2 separate regions of the Homo sapiens genome follow, and region 1 is linked to region 2. Evidence: promoter capture Hi-C in human tissues and cell types (Jung and others, 2019). All regions are on one chromosome and are shown on one strand. The core of a region is centred on a gene start or on the middle of the fragment in contact, and the rest is flanking DNA. Distances in the headings are between cores, read along the strand shown. Region 1 overlaps SHTN1 (shootin 1). Region 2 holds the start of ENO4 (enolase 4).

The links. Contacts are between HindIII fragments. The study calls those that stand out against the background at their distance.
Region 1: a contact is called between a fragment that was not itself captured here and the fragment with the promoter of ENO4 in region 2, in 2 of the 25 tissues and cell types used here (adrenal gland and aorta).

The regions. Positions count from the first base shown.
Region 1 is chr10:116,963,679-116,966,378 of GRCh38, forward strand. The region is part of intron 3 of SHTN1 (shootin 1); the gene reads right to left. Among named protein-coding and RNA genes, the nearest start is that of SHTN1, 40 kb to the right of the region's middle. The HindIII fragment of the contact is 3,633 bases long and covers 1-2,700 here.
Region 2 is chr10:116,848,249-116,850,948 of GRCh38, forward strand. ENO4 (enolase 4) reads left to right here and starts at 1,251. Exons shown (of 14, transcript NM_001242699.2): 1 at 1,251-1,483. The coding sequence starts at 1,319. It also overlaps a transcript of HSPA12A not described here. RefSeq lists an enhancer at 1-67. The HindIII fragment of the contact is 11,920 bases long and covers 1-2,700 here.

The sequences.
Region 1 (2,700 bases), core at 100-2,599, 120 kb after region 2:
GTGGGTGTATGGGTGTACAGTTGGAAGACTGGCTGTGAGTTGGCAACTGTTGCAGCCAGAAAACTGGAACATGGGGATTCGTTAAATTATTTTCCCGCCTTTGCATCACTTTGAAATTTTTCATAGTAAAAAAATTTTAATGACCCTGAGAACATAGAAGTATAACATAAAAGTACATCAAGTATTGTTTCTATTAGTCTACTTGAATTAGCGAAGTTTGTCTCTCTTCAACTATGACTTCAAAGCAGTCTTACATAAATGGCAGTGTAGTACACATCACATTGTAGGGTAACTGTTTTTTTTTTTTTTTACTTGTTTTTATCTTCTACTCACTATGAACATTAGAGCAGGGATTTTGTTTTACATGTCTGATTCTCTTGCACCTAGCACAATGCTACATGCAAAGCAGGTGCTCGTGTTAGTGTCTATTTGAAGGACTGAAGGCCTAAGCTCGCCTGTGAACAGCCTTTTATGAGAATGTTCTCTGTAGTATAGAATTGCTTAGGAAACAACTACCATCGCCATTTGTTGAGCCTGACTATGTGTCCAGCCTTGTGCTAAACTCTTTACATGTGTTCCCTCCTTCACAAAGCCTCACAACAATCCTATAACGTAGGGATCATCACAGCAATTTTATATTTGAGAACACGGAGGCCCAGAGAAGTTAAATAACATATTCCAAATCACAGAGTTCTAACTGGTAAAACCCAGTTAAAACCATTTCTAGGTGACTCTACTTTTCTATAGTCCTTTCTAATTCATTATACAAGGTGTCACCACCAATGATGTTGCTTCTAGAGCAAATCTCTCCCAACTCTAACTCCCAGCGATATTTAGATGTAGAATATCTCTAAAGCATATGTGGTGAACATATCACAAATTCTTCTTCAACATCACACTACTTCAAAAGTTTTCCATGTGGTAAGGAAAGAGCCATGAAAGTTGGCATATATGTAGGAAAATCGGTGTGTCCTTAAAACAGATTAATGGATCTAATATTGTGGCTGAAAAGACATGAAAGGGGCTGGGCGCGGTGGCTCATGCCTGTAATCCCAGCACTTTGGGAGGCCAAGGCAGGCAGATCACCTGAGGTCAGGAGTTCGAGACCAGCCCGGCCAACATGGTGAAACCCTGTCTATACTAAAAATACAAAGTTAGCTGCCTGTAATCCCAGCTACTTGGGAGGCTGAGGCAGGAGAATCACTTGAACCCAGGAGGCGGAGGTTGCAGTGGGCCAAGAACACGCCACTGTACTCCAGCCTGGGCAAAAAGAGCAAAACTCCATCTCAAAAATAAATAAATAAATAAATAAAAAGATATGAAAGGTCTTTAGTTACCTTTCACAGGAATCCGGTCTAGGGAATGCAGCTTTGCTATGTAGTGGTGTTCTTTGTGTGTAGGAGGAAGGCTCAGAGAGAGCTGGCGAGGATCAAAAATGACATGGACATATGGATAAAAACATTTATCCTGGGAAAAGTATGCTAAGCTAGGGAGAGTAGAGCCCTATGGCCAAACAAAGCTTTTCCTAACCCTTAGTCAGCTGTTCCGTAGGCCTAGGCCGGGTGTGGTGGCTCACGCCTGTAATCGCAGCACTTTGAGAGGCTGAGGCAAGAGGATCACTTGAGGTCAAGAGTTCAAGACCAATCTGGCCAACATGGTGAAACCCCATCTCTACTAAAAATACAAAAAATAGCCAGGCATGAGGGCACACACCTGTAATCCAAGCTACTTGGGAGAGTGAGGCACAAGAATTGCTTGAATCCAGGAGGCGGAGGTCGCAGCGAGCAGAGATCACGCCACTGCACTGCAGTCTGGGCAACAGAATGAGACTCCGTCTCAAAAAAAGATGTAGGCCTAGTAGGTTAACGTTACAGGGATTTCAGATTTCAACTCAGCACCAAAAGAAACTTCCTCCATCACTATCCAAATGTGGAGTCTGGTGTCAAAGAACTAACTCCCTAAAGGTAAATGATATGAACTCTTAATACTGAAGGGCAATCAGGCATTGGATATTTTAGTTGATGAGATGGTGGTAGTAGCAACTAATATTTATTGAGCACTTACTATATGCCAGGTACAGTGTTAAGCATTTTTTATACAGATTATCTTTTTTCACCCTCAAATGGTATATGAAGCAAGGTCATTTATACCAATTTTATTAACGCAGAAATGGATTCACACAAACTAATGCTCTTCACTGGTGATAAAAATACTGCCTATTCCCTTCCAAATCTGAAATTCTACCCTCTGCTCAAAAGCCATGAATTATTTATCCCAGATACAGTTTTCTGACAAATATTTAAAGTTTTCTTAGTCCTTATTTTTTTTGTTTTTTTGGGGTTTTTTTGAGACGGAGTCTCACCCTGTCGCCAGTCTGGAGTGCAGTGGCAAGATCTTGGCTTACTGCAACCTCCGCCTCCCTGGTTCAAGTGATTCTCCTGCCTCAATAGTCCAAAATAGCTAGGACTACAGGTGCCCGCCACCACGCCTGGCTAATTTTTTGTATTTTTACTAGAGACGGGGTTTCACCGTGTTAGCCAGGATGGTCTTGATCTCCCTGACCTCATGATCCACCCGCCTCGGCCTCCCAAAGTGCTGCGATTACAGGCGTGAGCCACTGCGCCTGGCCAAGTCCTTGTTTTCTCTCCTTTTGAGACTGAGTAAAGAGTTGGCACTCTGTTGTTCTGTGAGTTACCAAGA
Region 2 (2,700 bases), core at 1-2,500:
TGATGGTCCATTACACACAGACAGTGAGACGTTCCGTAAGAGAGCAGAGAGAACACGGAGGAAGTTTGGAAGGTGCATGTCTGGGTTTGTGTAACAGTACTTATAGCATCACATTTTTATGCATCTGCACCCATACGTGCATGTATTGAAAATAACTGTGTTTCAAAGTGCTTTCTCACTCACTTCCTCATTTTGTACTAAGTGACTCGGGAAACAGGCAGAGGAGGTAAGATGATGTTTTCCAGAGGGGGGAAAGTGTGGCACAGATCTTGTAACTGATCTGCTTAGGTAGGAAACATAAACAGGCGTGAGTGGAACAAGAACACCCTGTCCGTCGCCGCCCACTCCTGCAGCAGAGGAAGTATCTAGAACTGAGGACGCACACTAAGTTCTGTAATCGCATGATACCTGGCAGGTACAATGAAGCCAGGAAGGCACTTCGGATTGAAAAGGGCAAGGACATAGGCAGCATTCTGGAGAGGGAACGTGAGCCAAGGCCATTCCCCCATTTCCGTTTTACCTCCCCAAGTCCTGCCTGAATCATCCCCCATCCTTAGGTCTGCCCAAACCACAACCATCCCTTAGGGTTCACCCCAGATATTTTCAACCCACACTGGTTTTTTTCATTCCATTGATTTCACCCCCACTAATATCCCAGAGAAGGGCAAGTGGCCGTTTCTCTCCTGGACATCATAGCAGGCCCAGCCAGCACACGGCTCGGCTCAGAGCAGGTAGTTAATAAACATGAGCCGAATGAAAGAATTCCTGAGATCGCCACCGCTCAGTAAGGATGCCCTGAGCCCCTACATCCCTCCCCCAACAGAGTGGGCCTGCCTGGCACGGGCGGCCTTAGCAACCCGGAGGAGCTCACTAACAGCAGAGAGCAAGGGGGCGCGTGGGGAGGGCGGGGTGGCCCAAGACGCTGGGCCACTGGGACCCGAGCGCGCGACCCCAGCCGGAATTCGGAGCTAAGGCTGCCGCGCTCCGGCAAAACGCGCTTGATGAGGTCGTTAAAGATTTCCCCCTCTGGAAAATCGCCAGGGAAAAGTGGTGAAAAACGAAGCCGGGAGGGCCCTAGTCTCGGGAGTCTAGGAGGAGCCCAACCCCCGGACCTAATGCCGCAGGGAGAAAAGACAGAGCAGCGAGCGCAAATACCATCCTAGCTCCAATAAAAGGGAACGACTTTTACCGCAGGAAGAACCTAGGCCTGGAAGCCACGCGAGATCTGGGGGTCGGGATCACGTTGCGTTGCCTAGCGACAGCAGGGACGCTCGTGGGACCCCAGGCTAAACCCCGCTGTAGCCTTAAATCTCCTACCATGGAGGAAGAAGGCGGCGGCCGCAGCTGTGGGACCACTAGGGAGCTGCAGAAGCTGAAGCAGCAGGCGATGGAGTACTACCGGGAGAACGACGTTCCGCGCAGGCTGGAAGAGCTGCTCAACTCCACCTTCTACCTCCAGCCTGCCGACGTCTACGGGCACCTGGTAGGGACCTGGGACAAGCGCTCTCCTCCCGCCAACCCCTCTCCCCCCGCCCCGCGCTGCGGCAACGCCTTGCGCCTGCGCCTGCGCCTCAGAATCTCGCATGCCAGCCGCCCGGGCCCTGGGCCTGCGTGTGCGGAGGAGACTTCTGGAGGGAAGGAGCGGGAAGGACACCCAGGGGTGAAGGGATCTCCCCAGAGAAAGTGGCAGAAAGGAGGCAGCTGGAGGAAAGAGGGCGCTAGGCGTATTTGACCTGCAGCGGCAGCCCAGGGGCTGGCAGGCTTCCTCGCTGCCTAAGAGGCCTCTCCGTTTGTGGGCCGGCCCACCGCCCATGCTTGCCAATTGTCATTTTTAACACATACCTTAATGCCCTCAGCTCAGCTCACCGACCTTAAGCAGCTCCTCTTTGATCACAGGATGAACACCTTGGCGTTTGCTACAACTTGGCTTCAGCCTATTCTGGGGCCTCATCCTACTGGCTCCTCTGCCGGGATGCCAGTTAATATCTGACCAGCCCCGCCCTAAACTCCAAAATTCAGACCAAAGCCTTGCCCACGTAGCCCTGGACCAACCGTCCTTCTGGGTTCCTACAGCATTTCCTTCGTGTATTGTAGTCTCTTGAGGCAGCCTCCCTAGGCAGCCTGTGAGCCCCTGCTGGGCTCAGAAGCCTTGTCTTCTCACCTTCCGGGTCTCTGCCCAGCCCTGAGATCTGGCACATACCTTAGCGTTAAGCAGTGAGCAGCTGAAGCAAAGACGTTTTCTCCCTTCCAGATCTATAAGTAGTAAGGAAGGCAGTGTGGCTGGGGCCCCTAGGAGTTTGCACTATGGCAAGGCAAAGCAAGGAGGCAATGTGAACACCAAGCAGAAGGAGTCCTATGAAGAGGCAGATGTGCTGTCAGGGTGCAAAACCACGTCGTATTGAGGCAGTTGATATAAAGGATGTTCCGCGAATGACTTTTTCCCACTCATGGCCTATACTATCAAAGGGGAGAGGTGTGGGGTTTACTGAGCCCCTTGTGCTGCGTACTGTAACTCAATCCTCAGTACCACTGCGACGAGGTAAAAATGATGATTCCCATTTTACAAATAAAGAACCTGTGGCCAGTGCAATTTAAATGATTTTCCCAAAGGACATAGTGACAGAAGAAAAAAAATCAAACCACATTTGTGTCCCTAGTACCCAGCAGAGTGCATGGCACACAGTGGATGCTGAGAAACTA